Regions from separate parts of the Homo sapiens genome. Here region 1 is linked to region 2. The links are contacts of gene promoters, found by promoter capture Hi-C in human tissues and cell types (Jung and others, 2019). All regions are on one chromosome and are shown on one strand. Each heading gives the region's core, a stretch centred on a gene start or on the middle of the fragment in contact. The rest is flanking DNA. Distances are from core to core; before and after follow the strand shown.

Region 1 (6,264 bases), core at 1,841-4,340, 150 kb before region 2:
AATGGGCATGGCTAGAAGCACAAACCTAGACAGCACAGATTCCGCCCCAGAACACAGAGGCGTCACTGGCTCTAACTAACTGGTTTGGAGAGAAGATCTTTCAAAAACTGTATGTGGACATTCTTTTCCCTCAAAGTGCCATCAGAGATAAATGACAAAAATTTAACTTGCTGCCAGTTAGAGGTACAGAGACAGGCTTCTACATTCTGGAGTGGGAGAGTCTGGGTTGGGAGAGTCGGTGGTGGTGGGGGCTCATCTTTATCTAAAAGAGAAGGTCACGCTGGAACCAAAAGCTTCACCTGAGCTACCCTTTACAGAGCTAGAACCCCCACCTCCAGAGCCATATCCTCCTCCAGAGCTGGAGCCTCCTCTAGAGCCACCTCCAGAGCTGTGTTTTCCACCTCCAGAGCCATATCCTCCTCCAGAGATGGACCCTCCCTTAGAGCCACCACCAGATCCGTATCTTCCTCCAGAACCACCGCCAGAGCCATATCCTCCTCCAGAGATAGAACCTCCTCCTCCACTACCGCCTCTGGAGCCAGACTGTCGGCCTCCAGAGCCATAACTGCTGCTTCCAGAGCTGTATCCTCCTCCGGAACTGGACCCTCTACCTCCAGAACCTCCAAAGGCAGCCTTGGATGCCACATTTGATGAAATGGTGCTGCTTGTCACAGCTGCAGAGAGAGGTGGTGTTACCACAGAGATTATGACTGCCTCTCCCTGCCTCCACCTGACACAACACCCCATGGAACAGGACCACACCCCATTACTTACACACAGTCACATTGCTGCTGAGGTCTCCAGACATCCTGTAAGGGAGAGAGAAAAAACAAGTTGTGGTGGAACACTTAGGTTCTGTATGCATGTTGTTTTACCACTTCCACCCGCAAATGTGCAGTTTAGCCTCTCTAAGCAGCCACCAGGGCTTACACACCCCACTTTCTTCTATGCTGCCAGGTCACACAATGACGACAGACCCCCTTCCATTTATGCACAACCTTGCATGTCAATCCCTCTCAATTTTTGCTCTGATAAAAAATGAACAGTTGCGTGGTTGATCCAAGGTCACTGAAAAGCAAATTCACTTCCTACTTTGCAACCCATTTGTGTATTTAAATCCATCTTGGAGAGTCTGTTATTCAGAATCCATGCCACATCAGAAATTATACAATGAGGCTGCCTGTGAACATTCAGTTCAGAAAGAACTGTGACTCTGTAGAGCCTCCCCATTCCTCTCTTCTTCCCACCCTCTTCAGCTTCAACTGAAAACTTTCCCACTTCCTCTTACAAGCTGGGCATAGGAGGCATTGCCTCTAGACAGGGACAGAGCAACCTCCTGAAGAAAGCCACTCCCTGTTTGTCATGCTGGCTTGCTGATGGCCTGGGGTAGCTTTTCCCCTTCCAATTGCTTCAGCCAGATTAAGTCACCCAAGATGCTGATAATACGGACAAAGGTCTCAGACTACAGAGGAAGCAAAGGGTGCCTCTTTGAAAGTTAGCAAATGGTTCCATTTGTCACTCCAGAAACCTGCAAAGAACTGGGGCTGGCACCTGCTCCGGTCAGCACGTCCCCACCAGTCAGCACATTCCGAGACATCATCTCCCCCATTCTGGGTCACCCGGTGGAGGGCACAGAAGCCACTCACCCTATGGACCTAGAGACCAAAGTTTCAGACTGTCTAGGACTAACCTGTTTTCCCATGATTTTGTTTTCTCTTTCAGAAAAGACCAGGATGTTTAACTTACTGCTTAGTTTAATTTAATGTGCCTTATGCATCATTTCATGTTGATAAATGTGTAACTCTCCAATCATGCTTTATGTCCTGAGTTTCTGCTTGGGGAACACAGAGAATGTCAGTTCTCAGTTGTCAGGAGGGCCTGCCCCATTCTCTGCTTTCCCTGTCTTTGCCTCCAGCCCTGGCTCTGGGAGAGATGAGAGGAAGGGCCAGGGTCCCCTTCTCCCTTCCCAGTGCCCTCACCTGCACTCCTCGCCCTCCAGCAGTTTGCGGTAGGTGGCGATCTCCACATCTAGGGCCAGCTTCACGTTCATCAGCTCCTGGTAGTCACGCAGCAGCCGCGCCAAGTCCTCCTTGGCCTGCTGCAGGGCCTCCTCCAGGTCATTCAACTTGTTCCTGGCATCCTTGAGGGCATGCTCCCCACGCTGCTCGGCATCTGCGATGGCATCTTGCACATTCTTACACTATGACAGAAGGACAGAGAATGGATTCTGCCTGACGGAGGCGGACAGAGAGCAGAGGTGTTCGAAGTGCAGGAAGCCAGAACCACTGGCCCTGGGAGTGTTAGGTCCCCTCTGGAGTTTAGTCGCAAACAACTGTGCTAAGACTTGCCGCTGTCTCTGGCACATCTTCTTCCCATGTCACCGTTGATGACACCCTTTGGCTTTCCCCATAGTGCCCTTTGATCCTCACATCACAGGGCCTGAATCATGATCCCATTTTACAGATGGAAATGAAAACATTTGAAATGGTCTGCTTGGCAAAGCTTCTGCTGCTGATGGAATCCACTCTCTGCCTCTACCTTTTCTATTCCAAAGCTAACGTCCAGCCCCAGGCCAGCTGCCCTCAATACTCACTGCCCCTCTATGAAACCAGTCGGCTGGTGCTCAGGGCCTGTGCTGAGCACAAACGGGAAGCTCCATCGGCAATCTGCAGCAAATCAATCAAACTAACGTTTGCTCTATTTGTTATGACTCCCTTTTCCTCATATAAACAAGTGAGCACAATTCTTTCCCTTCGATAATCCTTACTTTGGAATGTCTATTAGAGCACTCTAAGAATTGTTATAATAAGCCATAAATTATGTTAAGCTGGGGAATTTGGGATCGATACATGCTAGAGTGCAATATCTCAGTGTCTCTCATCTCTCACATGCACACTCACACACAACCACACTCTCACGCACACCCAGAGACAACCTCCCGCCCCTCGCTGGACAGGGCTGGGCCTCACCTGCTTCTTCACATGTGCGATCTCCCCCTGCAGCCTCTGGATCACGCGGTTCAGCTCGCTGATCTCTATCTTGATCTCTTTCAGGCTGTCTCCATGTCTCCCGACAGTCACCTGGAGCTCCTCATACTGATATGGGGAGAAGAGGACAGTTTGCAAGGAAGTTCCAGCCTGGCTCACATTCCAGACTGACTGGAGTGAAGGAGAGCTGGTTACTGGTCCAGGGAGGGTCAACCCAGCTAAATGTCATGGCTGCATTCATGAGAGGTAGGGACTGTCTCACATGCCCAAAAGGACTTGGTGCCATTCTCAACATCCTTTCTTGGGAATGGTGCCCAACTACCATTAAACAAAAAACCAATAACCTTACTGTACACTTTCCAGCTGGGGGTGCAACCCAGCTCATGGCAGGGAGCTGTGGCTCTTCCTACATTCCCTCTACTTGCCTTGCTGTGGTACAGGGCCTCCGCTTCTTCCTTGCTCCTCTGGGCGATCTCCTCATACTGGGCCTTGACCTCGGCGATGATGCTATCCAAGTCCAGGTTGCGGCTGTTGTCCATGGAGAGGATGACGTTGGTGTCAGTGACACTCTGATGTATCTGGGATATCTCCTACAACACACAGGAAGGTCTGGTCATGACATCCTGCCATAGCTACAGGCAGACAGGAGGCCTCTGTCTCCCAGCATAAGGGAAACGCAGACCCTCAGACTAAGCATACACTAGGTGGGATGAAAATCATGTAACCGTCTACTCCTGGGCCTCTCCCAAGGTTGTCCTGAGAATTGTAGTGAGAGGCACCTGTATTTCTGAGCCTCCTAGTTAACATTCAGCACTTAAGCCAGTTATGGTAAGTGCCCCCAGACAGAAGCTTGTCCATGGCAAATACCTTAAATGGACTTCCTGTTTCAGAAATCATCTGTGCACCCTTGGGTTGGGGAGGGGGATAGGAGACAAATGCATTTTGACCTCTGAAGTACAGTAGGCACAGGAATGGGCACAGGGCTTGTCTCTTCCCCAGGGGAAATGGACATCTGGGGAATGGAGGGAGGGGAAGCTGTCCTGGTGTTTCCTGAACCTTATTCCCATAACATCGGAGGAGAAAATTCCTCACCCACAAGACCTATGCTATGAAAGCCCCCCCAGTGGCCTGGAATGATGGCAGATTGAAGTCAGCTGGTCCATAAACCCCACTTCTGCCACTTTTTCACCAAGCAGAAAGGACTTTCATTTGGTGAGAAGGGTGGGAAGTAAGGGACTGTCCCGGAGCAGCCTCCTTACCGCATCATAGAGAACTTTCAGAAACTCAATTTCCTGGTTCAGCAGGTCCACCTTGGACTGCAACTCCACCTTTATCATGTAGGCATTGTCCACGTCCTGCAAGAAAGGTTGAGGCCTCTGGTGTATGGTTCCCTGTACAGGCCTCTTCCTCTCTCTGCCACTCCCCTCTACTCAGTCCCTGCTGGCTCCTCTCTAAAATCCCAGGCTCCCCAACCTGATCCCTGTCCCCATGGGACTTCTTTTGTCGTGCAGTTTACCATACACCTCTGCCAGGGACTTCATGCCTACGTCCATGGCTCACAGCCCTCAGGACCATCAGAGCCTCGAGATGACCAAGCTTTGCCAACCAGCCCCTCTCTCCTGCTTGAGACACTGTGTGTTTCTACAACAGGATACGATGTTCTTTGTGGGTTTCCACAGTCCTCAGCTCTCTCATCCCGTCTGTCCATCTCACCTCTCCGAAATTTCCCCAGAATATACACCAAAGGCCCTGCAGGACCCAGCAGGAGAACCCTTGCTTTTGGCCTACAACCTCAAACCTTTGTCAGCACAACCAACAGCAACTTTAAGCAGGCATTCTAAGGGAAGTCCCATTCCTTCCTCAGCTCTTTAGAAGGAGAATACAAAGAGATTTTTGTGTTTGCATTTATCATGATTCAGTAGAGGCTTTAAGTGGGTTACTACTGGGAAGCACTCTACCAAAAATGCAGAACAGCTTTGAAAACTGTATCCAGAAGCTTGACCTACAGAGACAATTTTGTTTGCAAGAGAATGTGCCATGGGTCTCACTCCTTTCTCTGGCTGCTGCTTTTGCACTCACAGTTGATTTCCAAACTGGCTGCTTAGACACAATGGGGCTGTGAAGCACTCCTATCCCCACCCCCAGCCAAGACATTCTCTCGCTCACCTTTTTAAGCGTCACAAAATCATTCTCAGCAGCTGTGCGCTTATTGATTTCATCCTCATACCTATTGGGACACAGATGTTACAGCAGTTAGATTAGTTCCCCTTCATTTTTTTTCTTTTCCTTTTATACTGGATTCACCCCAAATGCCCCATTCTCTGGGAATATTACACACTTTTTAAATATCTAAATTGAAACTAAGATTTCCAAACTAAAGATATATTTTTATAAACTAACTCTCAAACATACAAAAGACAAAAATGATCTCTAAAGTCTCACTGTCTTCCTCACAAATAATCAACAAAGATACATATGCCTCTCCCCATTACCACCACAAATGCAACTGGGAGATGAATGGCTTTCCAGGGAGTGATCAAATGGCTCAGTGCAATGTTTATCTCCACTCAGCGTTTCACTCTGCCACCTACTTCTTCTTATAATCCTCCACAAGATCCTGCATGTTATTCAGCTCTGAATTCTGTGATGTTCTTTCTGCAGTGAGCCCATCCAGATATCTCTTGAGGCTGTCGATATACCCCTGGAAGATGGGCTCCAGGTTGATGGGGCGGGTGCCAACATTCATTTGTTGTAGCAGCTCCCATTTGGTCTGTAACACCTGGTTCTGCTGCTCCAAGAACCGCACCTGCCATGACCAGAAGGAGAGCACATGAGTTCTAGATCATCCTTCACACCAAGCAAGCCACGCTGGCCAGGGGCAGCTCAGGTGCTGCTTCAGGACCTCGAGAAGTGTCTGAGGCTGGATGCCGAGTCATGACTGGCAGAGCTTCTGAGCTCCCTGCTTTCGCCCCTGGAAAGTCCCACAGACTCCTAATGCTACATCCGGCTCTCTCCACGCAGAGGAGACTCTTTGCTGCTTCACTGCTCACTGGTTTGTTTGCAGCTGCTCCCAATACTCTAGACCATTTCCCTCCCCGCATCCTGGTTGAATTTCCAGCCAAGATCCCATAAATTCTGGGGAAAACCGAAAGCAGCCATCTGCTGGCACTGCTCGCAAGGGTGCTGAGTATGAGAGTCCCAGAGGGCAGGGCTCCTCAGCCTGATTTTTAAGAGCCTTGTAAATCCCTGCCTATTTCAAGGCAGATAAACCAAGACA
Region 2 (6,454 bases), core at 839-3,338:
CAGTCAGGGGGCATGTAGAAGGGGCCAAGACTCTGAGACAGGGTGGGCCATGGCATCTTCCCACTCCTGCCCTGTCACTCACTTCTTCTTGAAGTCTTCCACCAGGTCCTCCATGTTCTTCAGCTCAGAGTCCAGGCGCCCTCTCTCCCCGAGGATGTTGTCCAGGTAGCTCCGCAGGTAGTTGATGTGATTCTCAAAAAGAGGCTCAAGGTTGTTTGTGCCTGAGATGGAACTTGTGCCCTGCTGCTGGAGCAGGTTCCACTTGGTCTCCAGGACTTTGTTCTGTTGCTCCAGGAACCGCACCTGCAATGGTTGCAGGAAGCAACATCAGGCAACACTTGTAGCAGAGGAGCAGAGGGGCCTTCACTCAGGTAGGACTAGGTGTCTATCTCCTGGGCCCCCAGCACAAAGGCCTAGAAAAGATGCAAAGATAGGCTCCTACTGTAGTCAGAGAGATTATGATCAGATGGGTGATGAGTCAGGACACTACACTTGCAGCGTGGTTTGGAAAGTTACAAAGGAAGGGGAAGTAGCTCCTACCTGAAAGCAATAGAATTATTGCTTGTTGTTCCTGGGAACTTCATGACCCTATCTTAACTTCCAAAACCACAGTACACTCTACAAAAATGCACATAAACCTCAGCAGCACCATTTCCACCCACGACTCTACTGACATGCTAGCTCTTCAAAAACAGTGAAGTGATGCTGGGAAGCTGGGAAGCAACACTGGCTGGCATGCCACAGTTAGCATGACAACACCTCTCTTGGGCCTGGAGGGGAGGCAGCCCCATGAGAACTGTCCTGGTCTGGAGAAGCTCACCGAGCACTCTTGTCTTCCTGACTAGGCTGAGTAGGAGTGCAAAGTCACTCATTTCTCTGCGCTCCCTTGGGACTAACTAAGGTTCTTATGCTCTTAATCCCTGCTCCAGGTAATCAGCCTCCTCTGCCTGGCACAGCAATATGAGGGGGAAAGGGCTTCCTGGAAAGCCTCAGAGGGCAGCTTGTATTTGAAAAGCCTCCCATTCTTGGTGGACCCTTCGCTGATGGTGGCTGTGGCCCTTGCCTTGGGCTGCCTGCCCTGCCAGCCTGGGCCTCAATGAGGCAATGACTGGAAACTTCAGCAGGGGTTCCCACAAACAGGATGTGTGGTGCTCAGGTCCAAATAGGGGACTGTTTTCTTTCTACACCTCCCCTCACTTGACCATGTAGACAAACTCCTCAACCCTGGATATCTTCCCAGACCCTAGAGTTCCACCTAACTCCTCACCCTCCAGTCTGGCCTATCCAAGAAACATTTAAACACTGTGTCCCAAAGGTCAAATTCAAAGTCCCCAGCCCAGGAAGGGATGACCAGTCAAAGCTTCATTACCTTGTCAATGAAGGAGGCAAACTTGTTGTTGAGGGTCTTGATCTGTTCCCGCTCCTGGGCCTTTACTTGCCCAATCTGGGGGTCGATCTCCACATTGAGGGGCTGCAGGAGACTCTGGTTGATAGTCACTTCCTGAATTCCCCCAGGAAAGCCCCCAGGGCCAAAGCCACCAGGACTGCCCAAGCTGCCAGGCCCACCAAAGCCACCAGACCCACCAAAGCCACCAGGACCACCAAAGCCACCAGCCCCTCCAAAGCCACCAGCCCCTCCAAAGCCACCAGCTCCACCAAAGCCACCTCCCATTCCTCTGCCACCACCAAAGCCACCACCAAAGCCACCTCCATAGCCGCTCCCAAAGCCACCTCCATAGCCACCTGCAAAGGCACAGCTGCTCCGCCCTCCCCCAAAGCCTCCAGCCCGGGAGCCGCCAGCTGCCACGCTGATGGAGATGCTCTTGTTGCCGCCCAGGTTGTAGAGGCTGCGACTGCCAAAGCCACCTGCTCCGCTCCGGAAGCCATAGGCCCCTCCGCCAGCTCCCCCAGAGTGGGCCACACAGCTCATCCTGCTGCTGCCGGAGACCACAGCAGAGCGGCCGGAGAAACCCTGGCTCCCGCCACCAGATGTCTTGCTGGCTTGTCTGCTCATGGTAAGGAGCTTGGCGAAGAGAAGAGTGTAAGTTAAGCAGGGACACTGAGAGTCAGAGGAAGAGGGATGGGAAATGAAGACCTGTGCAAAATAAATCCCTTTATATACATTTGAGGAGGTTGTTGGGCTCAAACGAAGGAGAGATAATTAATCCCAAATATTCATGGGCTGGGTTTGCCTCCAAGGCAATAAGTTTGTTCCAGGCTACCAAACACACCTTGAAAATAAGCTGAAATGGTAAAAGTGCTAAGGTGGCAGGCTTACCTGGTGAGGGGGTGGTGCCTGGTGTTGCCCCATGTTTGGGCATGGCCTCCTCCTAGCTCTGTCTGACAGGACCCAGGAGGCACGCTCACCTGCATCAGGTGCTCAGCAGCCATCCCTCTGCCTATTAGCTGCACCTGGGCCCTGCAGAGCGGTGCCCAGCTCTGGAGAGGATAGAGTGGAGGAGGTGTGGGGAGGTTCTGCTTCTCTGAGTAGTGGAGACAGTGGAGCCCACTCACAGCTCTGGGAAAGTATCTTAATGGAAGGAGTGATGCAGGTCTCTCCACAATGACTGAGTGCACAGTATGTGCCCAGCTCTACGCTGGCCTTTGGGATGAAGCGCTGACCTCTCCTTCTCCCTTCTTGGAAAAAAGCCCAGAACTATCACAAATCTGCCTCCTGGGTTCTCCCTGTACCCCAAGCTTTAGTTCAGGAGGTAGTGACCTTTTGGTTTATGACTATCTTTGGAGAAAAAGTCAAGTTAACACCTATGTATGTTGAGCAGACACTGGCAAAATCCAACATGCCTAATGTTTGTTTCTCTTTAAAACTTCCCAGAGAAATTATACACTATTACACATCTTGGGGTTTATCTATGGCTTCCTTTCTTGCTCCCCACATTTTGGCCTTTCTCTGGTTTTAGCTTAAGGCCTAGGGAACAAGAAATTCAAATGTCAAGTCAACAACAAATTCAGCAAATATTTACAGACTGCCAAATGTGTGCCAGGCCCTTTGCAAAACTCTGGAGACCCAGTCATGGACAAGACACACAGGGCCCCTGTGGGACCATTTTCTGTTTGAGAGATGTGCTCCTGAGAGTCGCCCATGCCCCCTCACAAACCCCAGAAAGCCAGATCTGGCAGAGCCGGCAGCACTATGGAATATGTCTGACTCCGAAAGCCTGAAACTCTCCCTGTCTGGGGTTGTTCAGAGGCTTATGACTGGGCTTGGTTTGTCCAAAAGAAAGCCATCCTGCACACTCTGGAGCTGGCCAAGTTAGCTGCTTATCTCTCCAGGACAGGCCTTTTTTGTTCTGTCTGCTGCACATTGGGCCCTTCTAAGGGTGTGGTCTGTATGGCCCTGGCAGGAGCCTCCTTAGAATTGGGGGAAAGGATAGAGACTTCTTCAACACCCACTGGGTAGGGCTGGGAGTGGCCCAAGTGCAAAGGAAGTACAATTTTCTTCAGTGGCCTGGTTCTTCCATTTTATCCTTATCTCTCCCATGTGTTACCTGCCAGGCTGTGCAACATCCTAGCTCCTCCCCAGGATAAAACCATAAGCTCTCCAGGAGTTTCCAGTCTTGTTAATATACTGGGTGCCTTGAACCAAAGCACAGTGCTTTGCCAATAGTAAGTGCCATAAAGTTTGGTTTGTTGAAAAAATGAATTAGTCCATCAATTAATTATTAATGACTAATGGTTAAGCCCTTATACTGGATTACAACCAGATAAAACTGGTTGAAAGCTAGTTCAACTCCCATTGCATGAGGTAGCACAAGCTAATTGAGATTATTTCAATGTGAGGAATCCAGACTTCTCAAATTTGGTGTTCAGATTTAGAAAAATTTACATGCAAAATGAGTGTCACCTCCTCAGGGGAAAAAAATGTAGAATCACAGAATCAAGAACTAATCAATCAAGAATCAATCAATTACAGAATCAAGTTGAAGTTGACTGGACATTTGAGGTCACACAATCTGCCCCGTTCATTGCTGGGATCCCCTCTCCAGCATCTCTGACTTATATCCCTAATTTTCTGCAAGTTCTGCCCATGGACTGTGAAGTTAGCCCAGGCCTAGAGTGTGGCCACACAGGCTCCTCTCCTCTTTGCTCCCTCAAAGGCAATGAACCAAACCCAGGGCTAGACCAGATCCTCCCCATGACTAAGCATGACCAAAGCTATTTAAATTCTCTGCATTTCAGCATCATTAACCATAAAAGATGATCAATCATCTCTGACCCTCTAGATCTCACAGGAACATAGCTAGATGAATGAAATATCTGCCAGTGTTTTAAGAAACATATCACAAGGCCAAATGTGGTGGCTCACGCCTGTAACCCCAATACTTTGCAAGGCTGAGGTGGGCAGATTGCTTGAGCCCAGGAGTTTCAGACCAGCCTTGGAAACATGGCAAAACACCATCTCTATGAAAAAAATACAAAGATTAGCCGGGTGTGGTGTCATGTGCCTGTAGACCCAGGTGCTTGGGAGGCTAAGGTCGGAGGATCACTTGATCCTGGGAGGTCAAGGCTGCACTGAGCTATGATTGCACCATGGCACTCCAGCCTGGACAACAGAACAAGACCCTTCTCAACAAAAGAAAAAGAAAAAAGGAAACATATCACAAAAATTAGACCATATTTTTCCTTATAATATCTAAGAGAGCAGGATGGAGGACCTGCCTTTATGCCAGACAGAAATGAGGCTGCTGCTTGGTCTGGTGTGGGGTCTAGAGTCCAGGGCAATGAGTCTCTAGGAATTCCTAAACCCATAGTGATTCAGGGTACTTAGTGCCCCAATGGGGGGAGATCTTAGTCATTGCCAGAGCCCACTGATTCTGAGCCATGCTTGTCATTCCTTTAGAGGGAATTATCTTGGAGAAGAATCTTTGAGAAGCAACATCACAACCACTGCTGTCATCAGCTAGTCCTGGGTCGGGGACCTCCCCAGCAGATGGTGGAAGAAAAAGGAAGAAGGGCATAATCTATACTTACTCTTGGGGTTGGGATAGCAGAGAAGACATGGCTTGACCTTTGAGAGGACAGGGAGCAAAACAAAGATTGGGGAATACATTCGTGGGACTAGATTGTCAATTCTGATCAGAGCTGTGAGTGAAGGAAGTGGTGGAAGGGGAGGAGATAATCAGTGAGTTGAAATTCTTATTGGTTGGGCCCATCCCTCTAAACTTGTAGGGCCTAATAAACACTTTGAGAAAACAGAGTTGGTTTACAGTCATCCCCAACACTTGAATTATCTGAAGTTTATTAACTAAGCGCCCTAAGTGTTTACTCCCTGGAGAAAAGAGTGAGTCACTGGATTGCAATGTGTAAAATCGAGACTCATAGGGTGCTACGGCCAGGAGGCTCTCCAGTCCACTCCTCTACCTCGAGGCAGAATTCACCTGGCCACTCCTACTCTTCAGGATCCCCATGGAAGGCGATTCATCAAATCTCCTAACTTGCCCAGGCCAGCAAGACCCCACCCTGACCCAAGGAAGGTCTTCAAGGATCTAGCTTTCGTGCCTTCCACTCCATTTCATGGGAGCCTAACTCCTCTTAAAGGATCAGTGAAGTTGTGGTCAGCAGCAGGAGGCCCAGTCACCTGTCCGTCATGGCATGGCACCCATACCTCTCTGCTTGTGAAGGCCCCTTTTAACACACAAAAAATTACATTGACCTTCACACATGTCAGAACTCATACTTCCAGTATCCTTTGAGAATATACATTTTTTACTATGAATTTAGCAACACTTTTAAATAAAAGTGCAGTTCATAGTCATATACATTTGAAAGTGGTAATACATATACATAAAAAGACACATTATTCACTCAGTCGAGAGACACTTGCATCCATGTGCATTCTCAGAATCCTTGCAGTCCTGACACAACAGCAACCCTAACTGGGGCCTCTCAGCCTCAGGTCTCAAGGTCCTGCCCCTTCCACGGCTGGACACCTGCCCCCAGCTGAGATTCCCCACTGAGCACTGTTACCACCTGTCTTCCCTGCCTTTGTGTCCATCAGCCTGTGGCCCTGGCAGGCCTTCAGCAGATGGGAACTGAGTTGCGATGAATTTGCTCTTGCCTGGCCTTCCATAGTAAAACACACACACTCCCCTGGTTTCTGTATCACAACCCTTCCAATATTAGAAAATACTGTGGAATTCACAGACACCAACCTCCCAGTTAGATAGACCCAGTTGTTTCTCCCAGTCCTCAGTACAGATGGTTTCCGGGAATCTTCTCTGCACCCACTTTAATATGTTAATGGACCTCTTAAAACTACAGTGCCTTGCTAAGATAGGATACTTAAGGTGGCTTCATGTGCACCAGAACTAATAAGAAGCCCCTTCCTGTCTGTGATGGGGGCACTGTGCTTCTTTCAATGCAAGCTAAGATTCTGTTCCCTTCTTTAGCTCTTGACTTCCATCAATCCTGCCTGGGGAGGAGGAATGGTAAGGCA

The links. The method cuts DNA at HindIII sites, captures the fragments that hold promoters and counts their contacts. A contact is called where the count stands out against the background at its distance.
Region 1: a contact is called between a fragment that was not itself captured here and the fragment with the promoter of KRT3 in region 2, in 5 of the 25 tissues and cell types used here (H1 embryonic stem cells, bladder, small bowel and 2 more).

The regions. Positions count from the first base shown.
Region 1 is chr12:52,644,761-52,651,024 of GRCh38, forward strand. It overlaps KRT2 (keratin 2), which reads right to left. Exons shown (of 9, transcript NM_000423.3): 2 at 5,579-5,793; 3 at 5,154-5,214; 4 at 4,247-4,342; 5 at 3,413-3,577; 6 at 2,970-3,095; 7 at 1,980-2,200; 8 at 775-809; 9 at 1-674. The coding sequence ends at 259. Among named protein-coding and RNA genes, the nearest start is that of KRT2, 4.3 kb to the right of the region's middle. The HindIII fragment of the contact is 3,386 bases long and covers 1,398-4,783 here.
Region 2 is chr12:52,794,029-52,800,482 of GRCh38, forward strand. It overlaps KRT3 (keratin 3), which reads right to left and starts at 2,089. Exons shown (of 9, transcript NM_057088.3): 1 at 1,370-2,089; 2 at 83-303. The coding sequence starts at 2,014. The HindIII fragment of the contact is 6,438 bases long and covers 1-5,599 here.